Regions from separate parts of the Homo sapiens genome. Here region 2 is linked to region 1. Evidence: promoter capture Hi-C in human tissues and cell types (Jung and others, 2019). All regions are on one chromosome and are shown on one strand. Each heading gives the region's core, a stretch centred on a gene start or on the middle of the fragment in contact. The rest is flanking DNA. Distances are from core to core; before and after follow the strand shown.

Region 1 (6,481 bases), core at 2,422-4,921:
CCAAAGGGGGTATCACTTTTACATGAGGATATATACAAAACTTGCCAGCTCAGGAAACCACCAAGCAAGTCCTACAGATAGGGAAGGAAACCTCCCCCGCCCAATGGGGCAAATCCTTTAAAGAACTAAGCCCAGAGGATCAGAAACATGCTTGGTTTACTGATGGATCTACCAAATACATTGATGGGACCCGATGCTAGAAGGCCATGGCTCATAACCCTGTTAAAAAGCATAAGCATTTCTGATGAAGGAAGGGGTGGGAGCAGCCAGCTGGCTGAACTAGTAGTGGTCCTCTGAGCTATTCAGGAGGAGGCCAGAGGGATTTGCCACTTGAATACCAACTCTTGGTCAGTAGCAAATGTTCTTACCACCTGGATGCCCCAATGGCAACAAAACAAATGGTTAATTGGGAATGAAGAGGTTTGGGGTAAACAATACTGGGAAGATATCTGAATCCTGGCACACACTACCATTATCACTGTTTTCCATGTTGATGCTCATGCGTCTGTTTGCTCTTGACAGACTATTTCATCAGCAGGCAGATCAACAGGCCAAAATTTCCACCATAACTGCAAACTTGAATGTGGATGAATGGATTACAACATGTTCAAGACTTGCAATGAGAGGCTTTATAATGTATGGTGGTATAATTGATAGTGCTTACCGGGGAGAGTTAAAGGTCATTTTATACAATACCACTCCAGATTCTTTTGCTATAAAACCTCAGATGCAGGTTGCTCAATTGTTAGTGGAACCTTGTCAGCAATTAACCCCTGAGGAAATCTGCCCCAACAGAGGCTACATGCAGAACTGGGGGATTCAGATCCTGGAGCCAAAATCCTGGAGCCAAAATATGGGTACAGCGTCCATCAGGTCCCACCCTTAAGACTGGTGACCTTGTAGCTATAGGAGCAGAAAATGAAGCACACTACAATTTCCTAAAGATGAAAAACAATATCATGTTCCCCTCTGTTTTTGTTATCACATGGAATAACCTATCTACTAATGGTCAGCACCTGTGTCTTTGTGTCTGACGCCAAGATTAAATTCATCAACTGGGTAGCCACCGCTGCAGAGGAAGCCAACCACAGTCAATGTTGGCTATGTGGGAATGAGCTACCTTGGAGAATCCTCCCTGCTAACATTTCTGAATGACTATGTCGCTACCAATGGGACCACAACAACAACACTTGCAATCCAACCTGGACTTTCTTTGACCAAACCAAGCCTTGGTACTCTGGGGTTTCTCCTGCCAGACAATTGTCAACACATGCTCCAAATCAACAACATTACCCCCAATGAAACACAATCTCTTTCCTACTTTTATAACACATTAGTACACTATGATTACAGTAACTCCATTGCTGTCCCCTGCGGGGCCCTCTGGGTATGCGGATCCTATGGGTAGCGATACCTGCCCCCATATTGGATGGGGATATGCACTTGGGGGTGGCCATTAATTCCATTCACCATCCGGGATAATATTCCCCTCCCCAGTAATCTAGATGCTTACAAACATCCCTGGTTAGAATGCATCCGACTCCGTAGGGGTGGTATCCTATCACAGCATTCTCCCCTGCAGCTGATACAATCCTGCTTCAGCAACAAATTAAAACATTAAGCTCACTTCTAAGAAAAGCTCTTAATGATAGTAGCACTGGATGTATGTTGTTATCAGATGAATTTGCTCAGCTATGTACTGTTGTGTTGCAAATGGAAAGGCATTAGATATGCTTACTGCAGCCCAAGGAGGGGTTTGCACCTTACTGCACTGGATGTTATGTGTATATCCCTGACAATTCTCACAATATTACTCTCCTTGCAAAGCCATGATGGGTGTGTTATTAATTTTGCTTTTAATTCTCCTGTGCTTACCCTGTATCTGTAATCTCTATCAACTATGCCTTCCCCATGTATCTGTAGGGGTATTTTCCTGCGATTGAGTATCAGATTGAAGCCGAATGTGGAGGAAAACTTAAATATTAAATTTGAACTCAATTGAACATGGACACAAACAATGGCCACCAAGTCCCAGAACAGGTGGTGTGAGCCCCTTGAGGAATTCATCGAGCGCTGTTTCAAATAAATCTCTATTTAAATTCCTATTTGTTAGTTATTGAAACACAACAGACAATCGCAAACACAAGTTGACCTTTTTGTGTTCCTTGAGTCCAGTCGGGAAGGGCCCTTGTGACTGGGTCTCATGCCAAACAACTTGTTACGATAAGAGCTAGGGTCCCAGACCATGAGGAAACTTCATGAGAATCCTCTGTAGTCTGGTGAGTGTAGTGTCCGACTCTGGAGCCCAGGCTGTTGCTTCCCGGTGTGGTGGTGAATCCTCCACAGTCTGGTGAGTGTACCTATAAATATATCTTTTCCTTCTCCCCTTCCCATTGCAATTTGCTTATTATATCATTTGCTTATTATATCCGCGTTGCCATTTAATTGGGATAAAGGTTGTTTACCCTTAAAAGTATGGTGTGTGTGTCTTTTCTTCTCCCCTTGCGCCTTTCTCGCACAGAACAATAGGCTCGTCCATTACTTTCAGTCGTTACATTTCTTGGAAGTTTCGTAATCCGGTGCTGATTCTAGTGTTTGGATGCCCATACTAAGTTTCTGCTTTTCAAGATGTCAATTTAACATCTCACCTCGCAATCACGTTGTTCTAATTTTAACAATTATTTATTGAACCCTTAAGTTCTAGACACTGCAGAATGCTTTACCTAAGATTTTCCAATTTCGTTCTCAAAACTTCCCCGTGCGTTGGTCGCTATTAACTCCATTTGACAGATCTGGAAACTGGGGCCCAGAGAGGCTAGTCCAGGCCACTCAGCTAGTCACTCTTGGAGCGGGGCCTCTGATCTAGCTAGTGGTGTAATAGAAATTGTAAATCATTTCAAAGAATATATATATTTCCCGTAACACCCTAGAGTTTTCTCCTAGCCCAAGAATTGTCCTTTTTGACCTCTGGTGATTGTTTCTCCTTGAGCCAGATAAGCTGCAAACCTGTTGGAAGCAGTGAAGGGCCATAGGGAAGAGCAGCCTTTGGGGAGACAGCCACCTGAAATTCTGCTCCACAACCTCCGCTCCAGGAGAGCGGGCCGAACGCACCGCGGTCGCAGCTTTCCTGAGGACACGGGTCCCCATGTCACTAGCGACACCTGCGCTCCGGGCCCAAAGCACAATCACAAAGTGCGGGACCTTTGGGCGGTGCTGGGCGGCCTGGCCCCGCAGCCACTGGGCCGGTTGGTCCCGCAGGACTCTGCTCCGTGGAGCTTTTGTCCTTGGGCCGGGGCCCTGCGACCCGCGCTACCCAGGTCGAGCCCCGCCAGGAGGCTCCCTCCTCCCGCCATTCTCCAGAGAGTAGGGGGTCGGGAAGGAGAGAACGGCGGGGCGGGGCCTGCCACCCACAGTCCCCAACCCAAGGACGTCACGGTCCCAGGTGCGAGTGCGAGCGGGCGGGAGTCCACCCCGCGCCTCCCTCCTCTGCTGAACTCCCCACCTCTGTAAAAGCGGCCCGGGCCGGCCCCCGGCTCCATTTTCTCGCGGCGGCCACACCTGGAGCCGCGCCTTTGGGTTGGGCTGGGCTGGGCCGCGCAACCGCCACGGGAAGACAGCCCTCGGGGCGGGGAGGGAGAGGGTGGCCGGGCCGGGGGGAGGCCGGGGCCAGGGAGGAGCCGAGTGCGCGCTCGGGGCAGGCGGCGGCGCGGAGCGGTGCGGCGGCGGGAGGCGGAGGCGAGGGTGCGATGGCGCGGAGCCCGGGACGCGCGTACGCCCTGCTGCTTCTCCTGGTAAGTGCCGCAAGCGGGACAGGGGAGCCACCGCCGGGGAGGGCGTCGGTAGGCGAGGTCTAGACCTCGCGACCAGACTTGCCCGCCGCCCTTGTGCGCGTTACCTGCCCGGCGCTCCTTCCTGCTGCCCGAGGGGGGAAAAGGGCCGGGCAGGCTGCGGCGAGATCCGACCTGGGGCTTCGGAAAATCCTCTTGGCTGGAGCCAGGAGAGTAAGTTGCGACCTATCGAAGTTGTGTTTTCCTTCCCGCGTCACCCAGGCCCCAGCGCCCTTTTCTGTGGTGTGTGGGTGTAGTGAGCCCTGGGGCGGGGAACACCATTGCTGGGGGTCGGAGGCTTTGTTGAGAGTCTCTGGGACGAGAAACGTGGAGGCAATAGGGAACAACCTCGCGCTTCTTCCACGTTCCTTAAATTTCCCTAGGATTCCCCAGCTCCTCTAGCCGCCGACACAAGCCAGTGAACTGGGGAAACCAGGAACATACTTGTATTCTTAGAGTGCAAAAAGTTGGCTAAAAATTTTTTAAAAAGGTGTAATTTACAAAGCTTAATTTTAAGTGGATCACCCACATATAGTTTTAACTTAAAGTTTATGAAGTTGGTGTTTCAAAAGTTTTCCAATATTAAAGATAATAAACATATGTAATAGTTTGAAGCCTTATTCATTTAAAAGGTTACAGAAAATGGAAGTGTAGCGCCCCCTCCCCCACGCCCCACCCCTCACTCCCGGAAACGACGTTCAGTCCCTGGATTTAGAGTTCTTTTGCTCAAATTGGATTTTAAACTGTTGGTTTTCTGTTTGTTTAAGGGGTTGCACGTATGTATCTCGCTTATAGGGGTTTACTAAAGGGGTTTTAATAAAGTGACAGTTATGCTGCAAATATAGGTGTGAGTTCACCTTCCAGAGAGTTCACAAATATGTGTTTACAGAGATTAGATGCAAAATCATACTCAGTTTTCTTACGTAATAATTAAAAATGCAAATACATTCACTATATTCAAAGTTCTAACTTCCAAAACATGAGCCCTTCTATCCTCGAGTTTTGGTGGGATGTGGAAGAAAATCGTGTGTGTGTGTGTGTGTGTGTGTGTGTGTCTCAAAACGGAAAAAGGCGTGACTGAATCCAGTCTAGAGATTTCCATGAACTCTCAGGTGGAAGAGCATGATAATTAGGGCGTCCAGGCCTAGCACACAGTTCATTTTCATGCTCTATTTATCCATTTCATTTTCCCCGTGTCCTTGAGGTAACTTTCAATGAAAATTCATTTTGTTGACAAAACTTTTCTAAGACGTGATCTGGGACGTCGTTTTTAGCCTCTGGGCTGGCAAAACAACTAATCCTGTCACCTTGATGTTTCCTTGTTTAAGGAGAATCCCAAGCTAATGTAACACCTAGCTTACTTTGAGAGTTACATATTCTTTCCATATATGAAAATAAATGACCTTTAATCTTCAAATAATGTAGCAATCAGGCCAATTTGTACACTCACAGAGTAGCAGGTAAGCAAATTAGGCATATCTTTCATTTTAGCAATTTGATACTTTTACCTTATTGGGCAGTAATAAACATCTCCTTTAGAAAGCGACTATAGCCAATGGAACAGGAGCAAAATTCTTGGACTGTTCTATGTATTTTCTATAAAACTTTCTGCAGTATAAATTTGAATATGTTTATTTTTGTCCAGAGAGTAGTGGGCAATGCAGCATTTTACCCCCAGTGTGTTTGCAGTTGCAGTTTTTTGGTAAAAAAAAAAAAAAAAAAAAAAATGGAAAGCAACTCATCTGACAGAAGTAGTTGCCAAGGAAACAGGTCCTTTATTGGAAGGAATATAAATTGTAGTCTGTTAGATCAGAGTTCAGTTGCAAATAACGGAATTTACTCTAGCTATTTAAAGCAAGAATAGGTTTATTTCGGGGCACTAAACTGACTACCTAAGTGTAGGAAGGATTGAGAAGACTGCCATTTGAGCTGTCAGTAATGACTTCAAAGCCACACAGCAGAGCCACACCGCTTAGGGAGCTGCTGCCTCTCCTGTGACCAGGAACTGCACTGCCACTCCCACAGTCTGAAAAACTGCTGTGATCAGGGTGCTACTTTTGCTACCAGCTGCAGACCCATGCATGCCACATCTGCTAGGATGCATAACAACATGGATGCTTGTACCTTGCCTCTTGGTGTTCACAAATCTAGTAGCTGGACACTAGAGCCATAATAAGATGACTACAAAGAACCCAGCTCCATACGTCCATATCTGCTTGCCAGGAGGCACAGAGCTCTGTTTCACTTCCTTCTTTCAAATCTCATGTAAATACTAATTGAACCCAAACCCCATTCAGAACGAAGCCTGCAGTGGAGTCTGTGACACATGGTCTTTCGCTTTCCTCAGCAGTGCAGGGAGACACACCAGAAGGTAGCTGTGTCACCCACATAGCTATCAAACATTTAGGCCAGCTGTATCAAAATGGGAAAAAGAAATAATTTTCTGAATAAAATCAGAGAATATTTCCTCTTCAAGGGTTCTTTGCAATCCATCAACTCCCAAATGGTTCACAGATAGAATTCAAAGAGTTCCTAGAGATGGCAAGGAATTAATTACATATATATTTTAACTAACTTCGGACTGAAATTTAGTATTTCTTTAAATTATGAGTGTGGGGAAGACACTGCACAGTAGTGTGAGCAGTAGCTGTGAC
Region 2 (6,607 bases), core at 3,586-6,085, 530 kb before region 1:
CTCATTTCCCCTTCCTGTCTTAATTCACACTTCCTTCCAGGAATTATCCTAGCCATACACTTTCTGCTTATAATAATTCTGTCTTCCTTCAATAAGTTTTTGTGATATTATAAAAATAACATTCCTAAGATCAATATGTTCATCTAGATATAGATGAAGAAATCTGTTAACTTGTTAAAATAGGTATTTTGGTTTTCTTTGAATTGTGCAGAAGAAACAACGTTCCACCGCCTATAAAGCAGTGCTTCTCAAACCTGATTGTGTAGAGGAGAACAGATTTTTTTCTCACCCATCATAAGGTGCATTGCTGACTCCTCATGACAAAAGGCAGTTGTTCATGTCATGGCAGCCTTCAAAAATGAAGACAGAAAGACCCAGGGAAAACCATGTATTGTTATGGACAGTCATGCAGAAGTTTGAATGGTAAGAAATTGAAGGGAAGTTGACAAGGTTTGTTTGTCCAGATCCTTCTTGGTGTTTCTGAGTGACATGCCTTTCCTCCGGTTTTAGGGCAGGACACCTTTCAAATGAGGGTGTTCAGAGGAGAAGCAGCGGAATAGATGGGAGAGGTTTCCTAGGTCTTATGACCTGCTTCAGGGGATAATGGAGGAGGAAGAGTGAGAGTGGCCTTCCTGCTTCTGCTGGTTCCTCAAATGCCAAAGAGCCCTATTTTGGGGTAGCACTTTCTGCACCACATCAACCACACACAAGAAATACATGCTGGGGCCCAAGGCCCACCTCAGGGGCTCTGATTTAAATGACTTTGGGTGAAGCCCAGTCATCTGTATTTTTAAAGTGATTCTGATATACAATCAAGGACAAAAATCTGTTGTAATGTGTTAGATTATAGAACTCTGGGTAAAAAGAGCAGCCCTGAGTAAGGAAATTACTACCAGCTCAGGTTCAGTAGAGACAAAGAAAGTACTGAGAACAGATGTTCTGAGGTAGACTTGCATGAGAAGAGGCAACAAAAATAGTCAGGGAAGCTGGGAACCAGGGAACAGGGTAGACTGTCAATGTTGAAAGAATTTAAAGGCCATTTGTGAACAATTTATACTCAAAACTAAGGACAGAATTAGTAACAGGAAGATGTTAAGGATGTATTTAATGACTTAAACTAGGAGCAGAGTGTAAACTAAGATAATGAGTCAGGCCGAAATCAAATAAAAGAGATAATAAACCTACTCTTAGAAAGAGAGATGATCAAAATTAATGCCAAATCTAGTTAGTAAAAGGAAAAAAAAAAAAAAAAAAACCAAGAAAACAAAAAGAAACCTTCCCTAGCCCCCTGAGACTACCTCTACCATCTATCTCTTCCTCTTCCCTCCACAGCCCAGGCAGCATGGCTAAGAAATACGGTCCTATTTTTAATACTTCTTTGCCTCCAGGTACTCATCCACTTGTCCACTCACAGTGGTCGGCTTTCCAGAACAAGGACTCCAGAGCCACTCTCACTAGGTTCATCTGTGACCTCTTTATTGCGATATTGCATGGGCCTCTTTCAGTAATCTTATGGGGACTCTCAAGCAGACTTTGTCAGAGTTGATTGCTCTCTTATTGAATTCCTCTCTCTTCCCTTGGCTTCTATGACATATCATCCTACTGGTTATCCTCCTATATCCTGGAAAAATCTTATTTTTTCACCTTAGTGTTCTCTTCTTACTTTTCTCAGGATCTGTCTTTAGCCCACCTCACACTCCACACTATACCCAGGCATTTTTATCAACTCCTGTGGTTCAACTGTTCTCAGAAGGCTGATGATGCACACATCTTTGTCTCCTGTACAGACACCTCCTCCAAGCTATAGAACTTGCATGTTCTCTCAGATTTTTCATGGGCACATTTACACTCAATATGTTCAAAACTGAGTTCATGATCTTTCTCTAAATTCTTATGATCAGATTCCCTTAGTCACCAATGTCAGAATTAATAAATCATTCTTGATGTTTTTTCTCCCTCTCTCCCCTATGCAAAATGCATAATCCTCCTCCACAAGGTATGGTCTAAGGACAAGAAGCTTTGACATCACCTGGGAGCTTGTTAGAAATGCAGAATCTCAGGCCTCACTTCAGACCTATTGACTCGGAATCTGTAGTTTTCAAGATCTTCTGGGTATTCTTACATACAGTAATGTATATACACTGCTCTGAAATTCACACCTTAAAAATGCCTCAAATTCAACTCCCACTCTTTATCTCTGATGTAACTATCATAAGCTGAGCTGTGGGTTCTCAAAACTTGCTGCATAGTACAATCCCTTGGGGTTTTTTTTTGTAAATACCAATGCCAGGTTCTAGACCTCCAGATTCTGATTTAATTCATCCAGAGTGGAGCCCAGGAATCTGTAAGTTTAAAAAGATCCCCAAGATGTTTCACTATGTAGCCAGAACGAAGAACCATTTATCTAAGCCAAAATCGCCCTTTAACTACATGATTATAATAGTCCTTAAACTAGTTCCTCTGTCTTCGGTCTTTCCAGCCCTCCTTATTTCCAATAGAGTGATCTTTCTTAAAATCTGTATGTAAGAACTTTCACTGGCTACTGTTGGCTCCAGCACTGAGTCTGCACAGTTCAACATCTGCCCCCTGCTTATTTATCCAAGGCCTTTTCTCGCCATAGCCTGTGCTCCCCTTGTACTCTTCTGTGTCGCAACCAACTGAGTTATTTGCAGTTCATCAAATGGACCATGGGGTTTTGTGCCATCGTCTTTGCTTTTAATGCTCCCTTTCTCTGCAGTGGCCTTCTTGGTCCTGATGCTGAAGATCTACTCTTTGCATACTCAATTTAAGCATCACCTTCTCTGTTATGCCTATCCAGACCTTACCCTTACCTCCCTGTGGTAGACCTCATCACTCCATCTCTTTGCCACTTTTACATTTAGTGCATATCTACAATACCACATTATAGTTATATTCTAATTATTTTTTGTTATTCCTAACTCTATCAGTCTACAAATTGGAAGCAAGAAGCATGTAATTCCCTTCTGCATCTCCAGAGCTTCAGAGACCGTAAGTATATATGGAATGCATATACGAAGGAATAAAGTAAAATTCATACATATTTCTCTTAAACTTGATTAAAATGACGTGTTCTATAATTTGAAGATGTGCCTTTCCCATATAATGTGATAATGTATAAATATCCAAATTTTCATCAAAAGACTGACTAAATTTTTATCTTAAGATAATTAGTTTCCTGCCTGACTGTAAGATTGAGGAATTATTATGCCATTAATCATGTGTCGCTCGGATGACATTTAGCCATCACTTCTTGATTGTGAGGTATTAATAGAGGCCAGGAGTTAAAGTGGAGCCTTCGGGAGTTAGACAACACCTAGTTCACATCCCACTTCTATTTGTCATCAGGGCAACTTTCAGCAAATTTCTAAACCCCACTGTTCTCATCGATAGTGGAAAGACTTTTATCCACAGTAATAGAAAGTAAAATGAACTATTTTGACATCGTTTTTAATTTTGAGAGTAAAAAATTTTGAGTTTTCTCAACTACTCTTCTAAGAGGTGTGTCTGCTGTGACTTTCTTATCTAAAGAAGGCACTACTAATCAGTTTATGGAAGCTCTCAGAGGTGGAACTTGGAGGACTTAAAAACCTAATCTATACTGAAAGGAGTAACTGATGTAACATAGCATTTTGTTACACTTATTTATCAAATATAACAAATATTTACTGAGTACTTTCTGCATATTAGGCACTGCGGAAGATATTAAATTAGTCCTTGCCGTTAAAACATTAATATAGGTGGATAAAAAGGCATGCATTCACTCTTGGGTGCAATGTACACTATTTGGGTGATGGATACACTAAAAACCCCATATCACCACTGTGAAATATATCCATGTAACACAGCTACCCTCATACCCCTAAATCTATACACTTAAAAAGCCAATGCATGTAATAATTATACCTCATATTTAATACTTTATGCCAGATGATGCCTATATTGCATTAACTCTCATATCCACTCTAGAAGGTATTCATGATTAAAATCTTTGTACTGTAGATTTTTCATAATTTGAAGAGTGAAGTTTCATAGTCCGCTCAAAGGTGCCCAGCTAACAGGTGAGAGAAGTAGGATTCAAGCCAGGTGTTGTCTAACTCCCAAGACCCCACTCTTAGTGGCTCTCTACCAACTCTTTACAATCAAGGGATGATAGCTAAATGTCACCTGAGAGATGCACACCATTGATGGTGTAATAATCCTCCAATCTGACAGTCAGGCAAGAGCTAATTAGCTTCAGATAAAAACTGTCAGTCTTTTGATGCTGCAAATTCAGATATTTGGACACATCTGGTTAATTCACAGAACTTCTACTTTTCATCCAGATGGCTTGTCATCATAAATGTCATAATATAAACACAACCAAACTTGAACTGCTCAAGCTTTCCTAAATGAACCTCAAAGCACTCATTGCTCTTTCAGAAGTAAAATGTTGATTTTGATATGCTATCATCATCTTTTGTGTGGTGCCCCATAATTAAAAACTTTTGATGCTTCATTTCAGGACTACCAAGCTGGAAAATAGAAAGCTGTATTGATGAGAAATGTGGAAGTTTCTTTCTAAAAAATGGAGACAAGTGAGAAATATCACTGGTGTTACAGTCACCTCTGTAGAGTGGAGCTTCTGTTGATTCAAAGAATGCTGGCCTGCTCTAAGGAGAGTAAGACGGAAAGAGACCCAGACCCCAGTGATGGCAAAACATAACCTTCATAGGAGTAGTAGCAATGAAGTCTGTCCACTAGGTAAATCACAAGACAGAAAAGCTGTAAGATATTTTTAGCTGTTTTAGTGCCTGTGCCTTTCCGTAAAAATCTTAGTATTAATATAAGTTTGTCTATGTCTACACACACACACACACACACACACACACACAAACACAGATGCATGCATATGTGAGAACTGGAATTTGGATAGGAATTGCATTAAATCTATTGATTTGCTTTGAAAACTACCAAGTAAAACAACTTCAGTTATCAGTAAATACCGGTACTTAAGCAACACATACCCACTAACAAATACAGGTATCTGGAGAATGTGTTCCTATTCAGATACTCCACAGATTATATAAGGGTGAGCTCAGGCTTTGTCTCAGGAGTAAGACTGTATCATGATGTCATGTGTAAAGTATTCAGTAACCAATACGTTTTGTTTCCAGGTAGACAGCAATGATATGTAAACAAAATGAGTTTTGTCACTCTTTTTCAGATACCCTTTTTTTTTTTTTTTTTTTTTTTTTTGATACAGAGTCTCAATCTGTCGCCCAGGCTGGAGTGCAGTGGCACGATCTCGGCTCACTGCAACCTCTGCCTCCCAGGTTCAAGCAATTCTCCTGCCTCAGCCTCCCAAGCAGAGTAGCTGGAACTACAAGTGCGCACCACCATGCCTGGCTATTTTTTTTATTTTTGGTAGAGACGGGGTTTCACCATGTTGGCCAGGCTAGTCTCAAACTCCTGACATCGGTGATCTGCCTGCCTTGGCCTCCCAAAATGCTGGAATTACAAGCATCAGCCACTGCACCCGGCCTCAGATACCCTTTTAAGAATTGTAGGCCATACATCTCATGGAAATTGAATGGTAATACCTGCCTGCATTCATACTCTTGTAGAGCTAAGACCAGCATGACTTTTTCTGTCCTCTTACTTCTTTGGAGAGGAAACCGACATCTCAGCTAATAGTCATTTATTTTACACTGATGAATTTTAAGCTTTTATCCAAATTCATCATAATTAGAATCAGATAATAGAGTTCTGTGTGAGGCACCAGTAGCGTCCTTTAGAAAATCAAGCGGATTGTAATTAAGAATTGATGTGATACTTGGCAGAACCACAGAGTCTTCTGGGTCACTTTCTGCATGTTCTCTGTGAAGAGCCTTCACAGGAAGCAGCTGGAGCTCCAAAAGGACATTTGACTGGTAAATTGACTTGATTGATTCAAATTTGATTACATACTGGAAACACATTTAGTTCAAGTTAAGCACATTAATATCTAGCAGTTAGAATAAAGACCCAATTCCTTCTTTGTTATTCATTAATAAAACTTAATTACTTCAACAAAACATTAATGAAGAAAAAATATTGGCTTGCATAATTCATTTGGAAAAATTAATTAATTATTTTATTAAGGGCAGCCTGTTCCACAAAGTAATTACTGAGGCTTTGATGGAGAATTGCTTTATGTTATTTACTTAGTAAGTGGTTGTTTACCTTTTTCATCTGTTATGTATATAACTTTTTCCTCCTAGAGGGAAATTAAATATAACCTGAAGTCATGATGGTAACTATGTACTTATAATTGATAAGATGACTGCATTTTAATATGATGTTTACTAAATTCAACCTGTATTCCAAAGATAGAAGGCTTATTTAGTGGCAATATTCTTCCCAGCTAGATTTTCAACACAGTAGTATTTAACAAATAATGTCCTCATTTAGTAGGTAACTAGAAGTTATAAATGAGGGAAAATAAACTTTAGCGGGTTTGTATCTCAGCTTTCCTTTCAATCAGACAAAGCCATGGTTTGTTAATACTTTAACATAAAAGTGCCAGGAATAAGTATTTCATATGAAAATTATAATAATTAACGTTTTC

What was found. Contacts are between HindIII fragments. The study calls those that stand out against the background at their distance.
Region 2: a contact is called between a fragment that was not itself captured here and the fragment with the promoter of DSG2 in region 1, in 1 of the 25 tissues and cell types used here (aorta).

Annotation. Positions count from the first base shown.
Region 1 is chr18:31,494,506-31,500,986 of GRCh38, forward strand. DSG2 (desmoglein 2) reads left to right here and starts at 3,672. Exons shown (of 15, transcript NM_001943.5): 1 at 3,672-3,791. The coding sequence starts at 3,747. RefSeq lists enhancers at 3,062-3,201, 5,917-6,026 and a silencer at 3,402-3,871. The HindIII fragment of the contact is 8,335 bases long and covers 1-5,571 here.
Region 2 is chr18:30,962,799-30,969,405 of GRCh38, forward strand. No RefSeq gene overlaps it. Among named protein-coding and RNA genes, the nearest start is that of DSC3, 77 kb to the right of the region's middle. The HindIII fragment of the contact is 3,254 bases long and covers 3,209-6,462 here.